5 separate regions of the Homo sapiens genome follow, and regions 1, 2, 4 and 5 are each linked to region 3. Evidence: promoter capture Hi-C in 16 types of primary human blood cells and fetal thymus (Javierre and others, 2016). All regions are on one chromosome and are shown on one strand. Each heading gives the region's core, a stretch centred on a gene start or on the middle of the fragment in contact. The rest is flanking DNA. Distances are from core to core; before and after follow the strand shown.

Region 1 (2,700 bases), core at 194-2,693, 4.2 Mb after region 3:
TCAACTCCGGCGGCGGGGAGCCGGGGTGCGATGCGCGGCCGAGGCCTCGCCCGGACCGCCGGTCCCCCTCGCGTCCCTGGGCGAGGGAGGGGCGGTTGGCCGGAGATGGCGGAGGGGCGTCCCCGCCCCGCCTGCCCGCCGCCCCCAGCCCTCAGCGCCTGGGGAAGCCCCTGCTGTGGCAGTGCTCGGGCGCTATCCGGGGGAAGAGGAGCAGTTCCTCTTCCTTGGCTGCGGCAGGGCTGCTTGGGCCGGAAAACTAACTTGTGTCGGCGCCCGGCCGCCCCGCGCCGGCTGCCGGCTAGCTCAGGCCGACGCCGAGGGGAGCGGCGGCGCGGAGCTCGCGGCGGCTCCGCTGGGACGCATTTGTCTGCCGCCCAGGGCGCGAGTGTTAGCGCTGACATTCCTTGGATTTGGAGGGTTTAGTCAGGCGCCTCGGAACATTAGTTACCCGGAGCCGCGCCGCGCGGGGAAGGGACCGCGGGCACTGCGGCTTCCCTGACCCGGCAGCGGGCGGCGCGCACCGGCCTCGCCCCCGACCCTGACCTGCTTCCCCCCGGATGAACCGTTGCACCACCTGCTTCCTCCTCCCCGCTGGGACAGCCAACTGGGCCGGCTGCCAGTGGGGGTAGGAGAGGGTATGAGGGGCTCACGACCGCCGAGGCGGCGGGGCTGCAGGAGGAGTCGAGTCGCTCTCTCTGTTGTAAAGTGCTTTTTGCAAGTGTGATGAGCATCGCTTCTATGTCATGTTTATTTAACTTTCCTTCTGGAAAGTTAGCATCAAGAAGTTGGGCAAAAAGGCTTGTGGCGTCCTTTCAAGAGTAAGAATCCTAGGAGGAGATCCCATTATCAGCTCTTCGCCTATATCATGAGATTAGATGTAATCTGGAAGTTTTAGTATTTGAAGTCTCTACAGCAGTGGAATCCCTTTGTAATATCTGGGATAGATTCCCATCTAAGTCATCTAAATTGATGGTAATAAAAAGTATCAGTTTTCCTTTTCAGTACATTTGCGGTTTTAAGCTTCTCAGCTCATGGAGTGATGGTGATCTTTTTATAATTTTGCTCTCAATATGACTTATTGACAAAGGATAACTGAATATTGCAATTGAGGATATTTGTTTTAAGTCATCAAATGGCTTTTTACATGTAGCTAGAAATGTTTAACCCCCTATTTTCTGGTAGAGAAACTGACGAAAAACTGACAAAACTAGCTAGGTTCAGAATGTCCCGCCCTTCTGATGATCTTTTAAAGAGGTGGCGGAACATCAGCATCACTTGCCAACTCGTGGAATATTTTATTAGTGCAAACAAAGGATGGGCCATAATGCCCATTTCAGTACTATATGGTGATGATAAAGAAGGTGATGATATCTTGATTTTTTGTTTGTTTCAGTGTACTTGATAAAGTTTCTCAGTGGATCCAGTGTAATTTCTGTCATTTGTCAAAAACAAAAGGTAGATTTTAAAGACTTAACATAATTAACATTAAGAGGAATGCTTAGGTATCAGAAGAGCAAGAAAGACCCTTTTATTGGCTTCCCAGGTAAATAGTAATACAAGCAATTTAAAGTGTAGCTTATAAATAATAAGAGCATAAATAAGGGATTATTGCCTTCCTTTAATAAAGACTAACCTAGGAGCTTTTAAGGTACAGTGCTAGAAGGACAAATCCTGTAGGGAGGATTCTGACTCCTGAGTTTCTCCTCCCCCTTGTGGTTCTTTTACTTCGATGACTATTGCATATATTCCACCCATGGTGAGATCTCTGCTTCTCTTTAATGCTGATCTACACATGGACTTTTTTGGATCCCTTTAAATAGCCTGAACGATCCAGTTTACCAGGTATGGGTTCTGCCTCTACTCCAGCAAGCTTGTACCTGTGGCTCCATTCACCCTGTGCCACTTTTTGTCTTGAACTATGAATATGTCATACACTAAATTCTGTTACAGCCTTGACAACTTGGGATGGTCCTTTCTCATCTGCACTATTTCCTTGTTTTAGGTCTGTCCACCTGTGGAGTCAAGACAAAAGAAACATGTTTCTTATTTCCTTCCCATCTCTGGGCCTCTTGCCCTTTCTCTGAAGTGAATGATGTGAAAAATGACCTTACATTTCCGATCATATTCTGTTGTGTGATTTTAAATATTGATTTATTTGAACATTTTTGAGTGCCAATTATATACCAGGCATGGTACTAGTTGTTAAGGAAATACTCCTTGTCCTTAATCTCATGGATCTTGTAAAAACCACACAGCAATCAAACCTCGATAAATATATAAATAAAAATTGTGCTACTGCTTTCATAGTGAAAACCATAGGGGGCAAGAAAATGGAGGAATTTGGTCATAAAAGCCTTACTTGAAGAAATGACTATTAGCAGTAGCAAATCCACACAGGTCTGAAGCAACTCGATTCTTACCTCCTGTGGGAAAGAATTTATTGGAGGGGCATAAGGCAGAGTGAGAGACCGAGGCAAATTTTTGAGCAGGAGTGAGAGTATTAAAAAGCTTTAGAGCAGGAACGGAAGGAAGTACACTTTGAAGAAGGCCATGTGGGCTACTTGAGAAATCCAAGTACCTCGTCTGACCCTGGACTTGGGGTTTTATACATTGGCATGATTCCAGGGTTTGCGTTTCTTCTCCCGTGATTCTTCCCTTGGGGTGGGCTGTCTGCATGCGCAGTGGCCTGCCAGCAGCGGG
Region 2 (2,700 bases), core at 1-2,500, 4.4 Mb after region 3:
CCCGGTAGAGCTAATGCAGGGAAGTTTCTGGGAACATTCGACCAGCGTTTGTATTGGTGAGGTTCCAAGTTTCCTTTAAAATGATATGACTCCGCCCTTCTCCAAAACCGTTTGAGGAGAAATGGAAAAGGTTGGGCGTGGAGGTGAAAAGGAGCCCTGTTGTCAACTGGTCCGTACTCCACCTCAGGAGGCGGCCAACTTGGTGCGCCCAAGAATAAAAACATTTCCCTTGTAAGAACATGCAAGTGTTTAGAAACGCCCCCCCACCCCCCCGCAAGGCGTTTGTGAGGGGGACCTGTCACAGTTGAGAAGTCAGGATGGGCGTTTTCCTCCCAGGAGGTGCCCTATTAATTTGCGGCCTCGATAGTTGGTCAAGCCGGGATGTTAGCTGCGGAACCTCCAGGACCGAAGAGCGCCAATTCTCCTGAGTTCTCCTTGGTTTGGGTTTCCCACAAAAGAGTGGTCACACCAAAAACTCTGTCTCCACAAATGCGAAACGGGCTCGAAACTTTTTTTTCCCCACACGATCACTTCCCACACCACTCCCATCCCTTTATGTTTCGCCTCAGGAGTCGAGGAACTTCTCTGAAAACCAATTCTACGATATTCCAGCAGCTAAACACAGCCCGAATTCCCTAGAAACAGAGAGAGCGAGAGAAAACACTGTAAACCCCAATCACACGCTCCTGTTTTCCCGGTACTGAAAAAAAAAAAAAAAAAAAAAAGTGGGTCCGTGGCCGCGCTATGCATGCTAGGATTAGTAGTTCCTCCGTCCCTCATGGCGCGGGGTCAGGGCGGAGCTCAGGTTGACTCTGCAGCAGAGAACTACAATTCCCATGGGGCCGCGCGGCAGAAAGAAAGGGGCGGGACGGGAGGGGGCGCGTCGCGCTTGCGCAGGTCCCGGGGCCGGAGGGAGGCGGAGGCGTAGCGGTCCAACTGCTGAAGTCCCCATGTGACAGTGAGCGGGGTCCCCGCTCCAGGAGACGCTCGAGTCTGCGTCCCGGCCCTCAGCACTGTCCACTGTTTCGGTGCCAGCAGAGACCAGCAGGCCCGGGACAGTTGGTGTTTGGCCGTGCCGCTGTCTAACTTGGTGTGCAGAGTGAATTGCCGCTGCCGGAGCGGAGAGAGGCGGAGCGGCCAGGAGAGAGGGGATTTCTGTCAGCGCCGGCCTCGGGAGCTCGGAGACATGAACGGCTTCACGCCTGACGAGATGAGCCGCGGCGGGGATGCGGCCGCCGCAGTGGCCGCAGTGGTCGCTGCCGCGGCCGCCGCCGCCTCGGCGGGGAACGGGACCGGCGCGGGCACCGGGGCTGAGGTGCCGGGCGCGGGGGCGGTCTCAGCGGCTGGGCCCCCGGGGGCGGCCGGGCCGGGCCCCGGGCAACTGTGCTGCCTGCGGGAGGATGGTGAGCGGTGCGGCCGGGCGGCAGGCAACGCCAGCTTCAGCAAGAGGATCCAGAAGAGCATCTCCCAGAAGAAGGTGAAGATCGAGCTGGATAAGAGCGTAAGTAAACCGCGGGACCGCCCTGCCCTCCCGCCCCTCGGTGGGGCCCCAGGAGCCGGGCAAAGGCACGGGTTGTCGGCGGGGTCCCCCAGACAACCGCACTGGCTGCAGTGCGGTCTCGTGGAGTCTGTGTTTGGAAGCAAATAACAAAGTCGCTGCAACTCCTACCGCCACCCCAACACACACACCACACACAGGCTGTCGTTCCCCTCTTCTTTCCCACCCTGGCCCCCAACCTCCCGCTGCCTGCGTCTCTCCCGCGCAGTCTTCCCTCTTCCTTCTCCTCTGCGACCGGGACACGAAACAAAGGGGACCGGCGCACTGAGGGCCCAGAGTAGTTTTCTTGCAGCCCGGCAGCTCTTCTGGAATGGAGGCGCCTTTGTTTTGCTGCCCAAGCTGGTGTTTGGCCCCAGGCGGTACTAAATCCCGTCGTCTAGGAGAAAGCGGAGGACCTTCACGAACAAGGAAGATCCTGTTCTTTTCTGTGTTCCGTCTCCTCCGGAGCGGAGTGAGAGGGAAGCCGAGCTCACCCGCCGCCTGGCAGTGAGCCGGGGTTGTAAACGGCGTTTGCGCTGTCAGCTCCGAGGGCAGCTACTCCGATGGTGGGGAGCACGTAGCCTCTGCGGTTTTGCCATCCCCTTGGCAGCCATCAGGATTTTTTGCACGTCTTTTCGTTTGACCATCTATGAGGTTTTTAGAAACAGCCGTTGCTACTTTTGGGAGATCTGGCTAGCGGTAAATGAATAACATGGTATCGAGAACCTACCACAAGTCCTGCATATTTTTATCTTGCGCTTGGCTTAGAAGTAAATGTAAAAGCCTGTTAGCTCAGTCCGTGTTTGTTTCAAATGCTAGTCTACAGCTCGCAGGAGTATATGTAATTAAAGTTTTTGAAAAGTTTATTTGTGACACTTTTTGCCCGTTTAAACAGTTTTCAGTGTTATCCATGAGAAACTCTTCAGGTGAACTTGCATAATTTCAGATTGTTTTGGAAAAATGTGTTATAGATAAATACATTGATTTAATATTCAGAAAAATGTATAACTGAAATTTAAATATAGTTTTGAAGTCGATGGCTCATTTGTGAAAACGAATGGTTTTGTATCTGGACTATAATTTGGGTATTCAGTTAGAAAGACTGGAAAGCATACATTATATTACTAAAATATGCTGTTCTTTTAAGTAGAGAAAGTACTGTC
Region 3 (2,700 bases), core at 195-2,694:
AGAAGCATTCACTGACACTCTCCCTGACCTATAACTTACAGAATCTTTTTTCTTTTAGAGAGCCCAATAGTCTCCCAACCAGCACTGAACAGGTGATACCAAACCGATCAATAATGTTAACTTAAAAATGAACAGCCACACCTGGCGTCTATAGTCCCAGGTCCTTGGGAGACTGAGGCGAGAAGATCTCTAGAGCCAGTAAATCAGGAGTTGGGGTCCAGCACGGGCAACATAATGGGAAGCCCTCTCAAAAAAAAAAAAAAAAAACCAGATACACAAAAACAGTAAGAGCCACAAGACGCACCCCTAGGCCTCTATTCTCCCCATGCCTCCCTGATAGTAAATGAAGTATAATTTTGTCCATTCTGGTGATTAAACAAATAGCATCTTCGGATCTAACGTCCTATTTCTCCCTAAACTCAATGAAGAGTTATATTCACAAAATGACTAATCCATTCATAATAAGCCGGAAATAAAAAACCCTGAAGTTTAAATGCAATAAAAAAGAATTTGGCAGAACAAAGTTCAATTGTCCATTTGCAAAACTCACCAAAACAATTTAATAACATTAAAGCAAACCAGGTATATCTCAAAACTGGCTGGTACTCAAAAGGGTTTCTCTATCAAACACTGCTTTGTGCATTCGCGCAGGGCCAAGGCACGGCCCTTGGGCAAAACTGAAGGGAGCCGTTGGTACCTGCACTCCCACCTTTCCTGCCTGAACTCCTTTCGACCCAGCCCTGTCTCCGGGGGCCGAGAACTCGCCCTTTTCCCTACATTAAAAGTAAACTGTTACGTGGCTCTCTCCCACAACAGGGAAGCTCCTCAGCGTTAGCACTAGCCGCAGGGCGGAGGGTGCGTATAGCGGGGCCTCAAAAGACTACGAGGTCTCAAAGAACACCCCAAGTGTTCAGCCCTCGGCGGCAAGCTGCGTGGCCGGCATTCTGCGAGGCATAGGGAGATCGCGGGTTTCTGCACGAGACGCATTCTACCCTTGGAACGGGAGAGCGCCTGCACGCGGCTACATCGAGTAACCCTAGAGCCCTAAAGGCCAGACCCGCTCTTTTTACAAAGGAGATTTTCTTTAGGCGCCTGGACCGCGGCCATACAACTGGACAACTCCAGTTTGGTACCTACCGCCGAGGTCACCGGCGGCGGCTTTGGCCCCTTCCAGGTTTCTGGCAATGACCGCCAGTCGGTAGCCTTTCCGGGCCATTAACTGGGCCACAGCTCTGCCAATGCCTCGGGAGCCTCCAAAAACAGCACACACTTTGTCCATCTCGGAGTCACAAACTCGGAGGAAAGAGGGTAGGGAGTGGGAGCCCCTCTCCAGGTTCCCTCAGGCTTTTAAACAACCGCGGTTCCAAAAAAAAAAAAAAGAAAAAAAAAGGCAAACCGCAAAAAAAAATAACGCCGCTCGACACCTCCTGCAGCCGCACAATAGTAATGCAAGACGCCGTGAAAAGGAGGAAGAGCTCGACGTCGCCGCGTCGACGTCATCACGCACGGACTCTTCCGCGCCACACCTAACAAATACGCCGACGAGAGCTCCCCGCCGGCGGAAGAATGGCCTGGAGAGGGCCTCGATGCTTGCTGGGACCTGTAGTCTTGACGCATGAGAGCAACTGGCGCAGGCGCGCTGCTCGGTGGGGAATGTACTTGTGGCACTGAGGGGGATCCTCTGTCCCCGCTGGGTCATATCAGTCGGGATTCGAGCCCCGGTGACCAATCGACCCGGTTTGTTCGGAACTGACAGGGTTGTCAAGACGCTGGGCTTTCCCTGGCAAACCAAGACGACCTGATCACGTAGTTAGAACCCAGAGAAAGCATTACTGGGCGTGAGCCGGTCGGGGCTCCGGTATTTGCCCTTCGCCCAGGTGTTGTTTTGGCTACAGACTTGATGTCCTACCTGTTGAAGAAGTCCCCAAGAATCGCACCCACACCAAAACCTACCCTACCTGTTCCTCCCCCAGGTTGCTGTAGAAATGGACCTCTACCCGCCCAGATGTTACCATTCATCGCGAAGGGTGTCGTGAAGATGAATGCCCTGTCGAACATCATCCAGCAGGAGGTCAAGGAATTTTAACTGAATGATTGAATAGTCTTGCAAGATCTATGAAACAAGCTTCGGCTGCTGTAGAGAAACAAAAATGGGTTCCTGCAATTCTAAATAAGATGTACTGGGTGCTCTGAGAGTTAATAAGCTAAAAAATTCAATGTTTGTTACAATTATAGTGTAAACAGAAAGCATTTCTGATACAATATTATTTTACTAGATTCAGAAAAGTATGAGCCATGGTCCCTACCACTAAAAAAACTACAACCCAGAACTACAGGACTAATACACATGAAACACTAGGAGGTATCCAAAATCATACTTAGTAAAATGCAAAATTATATTAACACAAGAGCTCCGAGAAAATGGAGATCAGTGAAGAATGAAGGGGTGCATGGAAAAGCTGGATTTGAGGGCTGGATGAGGTTTGAAAAAAGGAAAACAAGAGCAAAAAGTCTATAAATAAGCAAGTTGAGCATTAATTTAAATTTGTTATTCCTATTCCATTTAGATCCAAAAAAAGATTTGAAATGGTTTGCAAAAATACATGAGTATTTGAATTTAAAAGGCAAAGAGGACCACTGCCCCTTCTCCCACAAGGCCAGAACAATAAATTAGGTCAGTGGAAAAAATACGAATAAAGT
Region 4 (2,700 bases), core at 89-2,588, 4.3 Mb after region 3:
TTTGGCCCATATTCAGATGAATATCTGTCACTTTCATATTAGGAAATCATCCTTTTGTAAATTTTTGAGACTGACTCTCACTTTGTTGCCCAGGCTGGAGTGCAGTGGCACAATCTCAGCTCACTGCAGCCTCCGCCTCCCAGGTTCAAGTGATTCTCCTTCCTCAGCCTCCCAAGCAGCTGGGATTACAGGCATGCGCCACAATGCCCGGCTGATTTTTGTATTTTTGGTAAAGTGGGGTTTCACCATGTTGGCCAGGCTGACCTCAAGTGATTCACCTGCCTTGGCCTCCCAAAGTGCTAGGATTACGAGTGTGAGCCATCATGCCCTGCTGAAAATAACTTTTTATCTGCTTTTGTGTAGGTGATATATTAATACTATATTGACCTTATATCAACTCAATGATTGATAACGACTTAAAACTGCAAATTCTTGTGTAAATACTCTTATAAATATAAAGGTGGCATATTTACAACTTTGTCCTCTAAATCGTGTTGTTACTGTGCTTAGTATTTTGACTGTATTTAAAAATATATTCACAAACTATGAAATTTTCAGATATACTTTTCAAAATATACATCTAATTTTAAAGCCTGGAATTCTAATTAGACTGAAAAAATGCACTTACGCATAATTGAGGATTATGCATCCTTCACCCTATTCGGGCCACTCCTGGAGTCAGGGTAGTAGAGCACAGCATTGCAGAGGCCGGAGCCAGAAGAAAAGCAAAAATGCCTTCCATCCTCTTGGCCTTGAATCTCCCATTAACAGAACTGAACCGGAAAGAAATTGGCAAGTGAATCTGGGAAATGATATTTAGAATTCCAGTACTCTGTAATATAGAGAGAGTAAAAGAATGAGAATGGAACTGACAGACAACAGAAATATAACCAGCACAGTCAAACAACTGGCAAGTGGCAGAGTTTATATCTCAAGCAGTCTAGCTCCTGAGTCCATGCACTTAACTACTACAGTATGCAGTGACACTATGATATGCTATAGCAACATTATTTCATACATTTTAAAATTAATGGCTGATGATGAATGCAAGTTGGCAGGAAAGAAATTGTAGGAATTGGATTCATTAAATATTCCAGAAAGATTAAGTTTCTACGTTGTGCCGGACACTACTCGAAATAGAATGATGCAAAACCAAAATGAAACAAGGATGAAGGAAGAGAGTTCCTTTCTCAGTATTTCAGACTGGACAAAATTTCCCTGTGAAGGATTCCAACTGGCTTGATTTGAATCGTGTGCCCCCCTCATTAAGCCAGGCACTTTCAGGGCAGGTATTAGGGGAAATAACCTAGTGGAAATGCTCAATAGAAACCTGAGACAAGGATTTTGTTGCAAATAGTTTATCTAAGAGATGCAGGAAACACCAGTAGGAGGTGGGGAAGCGAGACAAAGAAGGGAAAACAGTCAATAAAGGGTGCGGTATCAAGCCAGATACCACTTATAATGACTGGAGCATAATCCCATGAGAAAACTCTGGGAAAACACAGGCCTCAAAGTTATCCCATCTGAAGGCCAAGTGAGCTGGGGTATCTATATAACAAATCTTTCCAGTCACTTGGTGAAGGCTGCTAGAGTGGGAGTTTGTTAATTCCCAGGCATTTCCAAATTGCCCTGATCACATAGGGACAGAGCTGCCTTCCACAGCTTTGGAGAAAGCCCTCAGGTCAAGAAATCAATGTTGAAGTGGTAATGGCCAGAGAGACAAGAGCAGGGTCTGTCTCAACTTCTTCATCAGGTAAAAATTTTATCTGCCTAATGCATGGAGTTATAAATTTCAAAAGAAAGAACGCCTATGAGAGAGTGTTATAAAATATAAAATGTAATACCAAAAATTATTGTTTAGGAGTTTCTTGAAGGCAGGAGGTGCATATCATGTTTTTACATCTCTCCTAAGGCCTAGTACAGTGCTATGCATATGCATAGGCTCAAATATTTATTGGATGAATTTTTCAATGTAATGATTATTAAATATTCATTAAATATTTTCTAGGTTAATAGGTGTTTTTAAACTTATAATTCATATCAATAACTCATTACTGTTAACTTCTAAAAACCTTTATGTTTGAAAACTATAAAGTAGCATGGTCTTGTTCTATACCTTTGTCTAAAATTCTTAAATCTAGGTTGTTGTTCAGAACTCTGTTAATTACCCAAAACCCATTTTCTCCTTTCTTCTTACTTTAAAAAATATCTTGATTATAAAAAAGGTAATGATAAATTATTGCGGGTTCAAACCAATCATGAGAAAGCTATTCTCAGTAGCATAAGAGAAAGGCAAGAAAATTGTAGACATCAACCCGGACATTATTGAACTACTGAACCATTACCAGTAACCATCTTCTCTCAGTCTTCTTATATGTCAGAAAAATAAACTCATAATAATACTGTTAGATAGATATTCTATTATATGCAGCCATTGGCTAATAACTTTTTTAATAGCATTTTTTTCTTCTTTTGCGTAGCAAGCCCAAGACAAGTCATTTATTTCTGGACTAGATTATTTCATTATAGTAACTCATCAGAAAACTGAGATAAGCAGTAAGTATTTGGCCATTCACATTTTAACTATTTTGGATTCCCCTCTAACTAAAGAAAGATCACGGTTTTTTCCTACAGCTCTCTACCTGTGCTGGCTCCATCAATATTCAGTTTGACATTTTGACACATATCTAAAGAAGCTCA
Region 5 (2,700 bases), core at 177-2,676, 3.9 Mb before region 3:
TCTCTATGACTTTTGAACAAACAGGCCTTGCTGACCCTGGTACTAAGCATTAAAGTAGATGCTTGTAAATTCTTATCCCTACTCAGTCTATTGTCATTAGATCACCTGTAATCCCAGCTACTCAGGAGGCTGAGGCAGGAGAATTGCTTGAACCCGGGAGGCAGAGGTTGCAGTGAGCCGAGATCGCGCCACTGCACTCCAGCCTGGGTGACAGAGCGAGACTCCCTCTTAAATAAATAAATAAATAAATCTGTTATGCTTTTCTCTTGTTAATCTGGCTTTTGTTATAGGAGTGTCAGCCATGACCTTTCCACCTCTATGCTACCAAACAGTTCACCATTAGAAGATGCTGGACTGAAGCCCCATCTTTCCTGTGTTGTCACCATCAGCATTGTTCCAGGCACCGTGCTCATTCCTGATCACAGATATTAAAATGTTAATAATATCTCATTGATTTTTTTTCAACATCAAAATCTGTCCTTTATTCACTATGATTTCTATTATTCAGCCTGGCATAACGTAACATGCATACAAACAATAGGTACTTAATTGATATTTTTGTTAATTTTAAAGCAGGATCTCTTTACTGATATTGACTTTAATCTGCCTTTGAAATGGATTTATTTATTTATTTATTGAATAAAGATGGGGTCTCACTATGTTGCCAAGGCTGGTCTTGATCTCCTGGGCTCAAGCAGTCCTCCCACCTCGGTCTCCCAAAGTGCTGGGATTATAGGCATAAGCCACTGTGCTCAGCCTAAATTTATTTTTAATCAATAAATAAAAGTTATATATATTTATGATGTTCAACATGATGTTTTGGTATATGGATACATTGCAGAATGATTGAATCAAGCTAATTAATGTATTTACCACCTCCCATACTTATTTTTTTTTTCTTAACTTGCCTTTTAAATAAAATTTTAGAACAAGTTGATCCTAGCTAAATATTTCTACAATTCTCTTAGGCTGCCCTATACCATTGTCAGAAATGAAGATATCCAAAATTCTGTCTTTGGATAATGTTTTGTAGCTAAATCTCTCTTAGGTACTTAGAGAGATGCCATTGAAAAATTCCCTTTCAATGAACAGACAAAAAAAGGAGGTCAATAGTTATTTTAGCATATCAAATTATATTTAGTTTATGTACTTTTTTCTGGAAAAATTTTTTTTTCTAGAAAGAAATTTAAGGATATTGTAAGCAATTGGAAACATTCCAGTTTCCACTTATTTGTTTCGTAAATGTTTGTATCTTTCAAAGCACCTGTACCACAAATAGAGTCCCGTTGTAACCAAACATTCCACATTTGAGTGATAATGGACTCTGTTAGAGGTCTCAGGGCTTGTAAAGTTTCAGGCTTGATATCCAGTACTTGCCCTCTCATTATTGTTTGTTTTCTCCTAAAGTTCTTATGATCTCAAATCCTGGCATTTAAAAGCACACTTATTTTTGAAGGCAGAATTTTGTTTGTTTGTTTGTTTCACTGACTCAGGAGCAGAAAAAAAAGTTTGCTAAAAATCCCAAAAGTAATTCATGTTTGGATAGACACCAAATATGTGAAGTTTCAGACCAAAACCACAATTTCTCTGAAAGGTTTTAGAAAACACATACCGAAACTCAGGGTGAAAATGAATTTTGTAACCTTCATGAAACTCAAGGCTACTACTTAGTGATTATAGAGCTGACCTTGTCTAATCTCCACTCACTCCTGATTCTTCTTTAATGCCAAGTACCAGGCTCAGGCATCCAGCCCAAGCAGTCGGCAGCATTCTCATGGGAGGAACTCCTTATTTCAGAAATAATCAGAAGATGGGGCTTTAAGTGCTTTGTAGTGATATCTCTTTTAATTAAGTTCTAGACAGTTAAGAAGTAAAACTTTTCTTTTACAATACAATTCATAATGCTGTGTGTTGAGGTCTAAAAGAATATTTGAAGGTATCCCCAAATAACTTATAAAATAATTATTTTGATTCTCCACACTGAGCTGAGCAGTAGCTCCCTAATCTGGCTCTGATTCAGTTCCAAACTATATGAGGCTTTACCCTCTTTCAGGAAGCTCACTCTGCTGAGTCTCAGTCTTTGTACAACCGTTCTAGGAATCAAAGGGGCCTAGTTCCTTTCCAACTTGACTTTTATATTTCTTTTAAAAGTAATCCCCAGTTGATGGATTATTTATTTATTTATTTATTTTGAGATGGAGTCTCACTCTGTTGCTGGAGTCCGATGGCAGGATCTCGTCTCACTGCAACCTCCGCCTGCCAGGTTCAAGCGGTTCTCCTGCCTCATCCTTCCAAGTCGCTGGGAATATGGGCACCTGCCACCACGCCCAACTAATTTTTTTGTATTTTTAGTAGAGATGGAGTTTCACCATGATGGCCAGGCTGACCTCAAACTCCTGACCTCAGGTGATCTGACTGCCTCAGTCTCCCAAAGAGCTGGGATTACAGGTGTGAGCCACCGCGCCCGACCTGATGGATAATTTAATAATGATGTTGAGAAAACCCACCAGCCACTTGGAAGAAAAAAAAGCTGAATCACTCCCCATTTCTTTTTCTTTATTTTTTTCTTTTTCTTTTTTTTTGAGACAGAGTTTCGCTCTGTCACCCAGGCTGGAGTGCAGTGGTGCAATCTTGGCTCACTGCAACCTCTGCCTCCCGGATTCAAGCAATTCTCCTGCCTCAGCCTCCAGAGTAGCTGGG

What was found. Contacts are between HindIII fragments. The CHiCAGO score rates a contact against its expected background, and 5 or more counts as called.
Region 1: a fragment that was not itself captured here is called in contact with the fragment with the promoter of CBR4 in region 3 in 2 of 17 cell types (non-activated CD4 T cells and activated CD4 T cells); the score reaches 9.9 in non-activated CD4 T cells.
Region 2: a contact is called between a fragment that was not itself captured here and the fragment with the promoter of CBR4 in region 3, in 1 of 17 cell types (total CD4 T cells). The highest score is 5.0, in total CD4 T cells.
Region 4: a contact is called between a fragment that was not itself captured here and the fragment with the promoter of CBR4 in region 3, in 1 of 17 cell types (non-activated CD4 T cells). The highest score is 5.2, in non-activated CD4 T cells.
Region 5: a contact is called between a fragment that was not itself captured here and the fragment with the promoter of CBR4 in region 3, in 2 of 17 cell types (naive CD8 T cells and total CD4 T cells). The highest score is 8.1, in naive CD8 T cells.

Annotation. Positions count from the first base shown.
Region 1 is chr4:173,169,584-173,172,283 of GRCh38, forward strand. All of the region lies in intron 1 of GALNT7 (polypeptide N-acetylgalactosaminyltransferase 7), which reads left to right. GALNT7-DT (GALNT7 divergent transcript) reads right to left here and starts at 69. Exons shown (of 7, transcript NR_134242.1): 1 at 1-69. RefSeq lists a silencer at 1-606. The HindIII fragment of the contact is 850 bases long and covers 1,019-1,868 here.
Region 2 is chr4:173,369,997-173,372,696 of GRCh38, forward strand. It overlaps SAP30 (Sin3A associated protein 30), which reads left to right and starts at 958. Exons shown (of 4, transcript NM_003864.4): 1 at 958-1,501. The coding sequence starts at 1,187. It overlaps SAP30-DT (SAP30 divergent transcript), which reads right to left and starts at 702. Exons shown (of 4, transcript NR_183973.1): 1 at 296-702. RefSeq lists enhancers at 179-418, 1,502-2,065, 1,769-2,068 and silencers at 819-988, 1,269-1,648. The HindIII fragment of the contact is 6,906 bases long and covers 1-2,700 here.
Region 3 is chr4:169,008,811-169,011,510 of GRCh38, forward strand. CBR4 (carbonyl reductase 4) reads right to left here and starts at 1,445. Exons shown (of 5, transcript NM_032783.5): 1 at 1,138-1,445. The coding sequence starts at 1,279. It overlaps CBR4-DT (CBR4 divergent transcript), which reads left to right and starts at 1,619. Exons shown (of 2, transcript NR_185919.1): 1 at 1,619-1,646; 2 at 1,974-2,250. RefSeq lists enhancers at 446-1,395, 1,495-1,824. The HindIII fragment of the contact is 6,180 bases long and covers 1-2,123 here.
Region 4 is chr4:173,342,569-173,345,268 of GRCh38, forward strand. No RefSeq gene overlaps it. Among named protein-coding and RNA genes, the nearest start is that of HMGB2, 9.6 kb to the left of the region's middle. The HindIII fragment of the contact is 3,910 bases long and covers 1-2,700 here.
Region 5 is chr4:165,117,132-165,119,831 of GRCh38, forward strand. No RefSeq gene overlaps it. Among named protein-coding and RNA genes, the nearest start is that of TMEM192, 5.6 kb to the left of the region's middle. The HindIII fragment of the contact is 7,778 bases long and covers 1-2,700 here.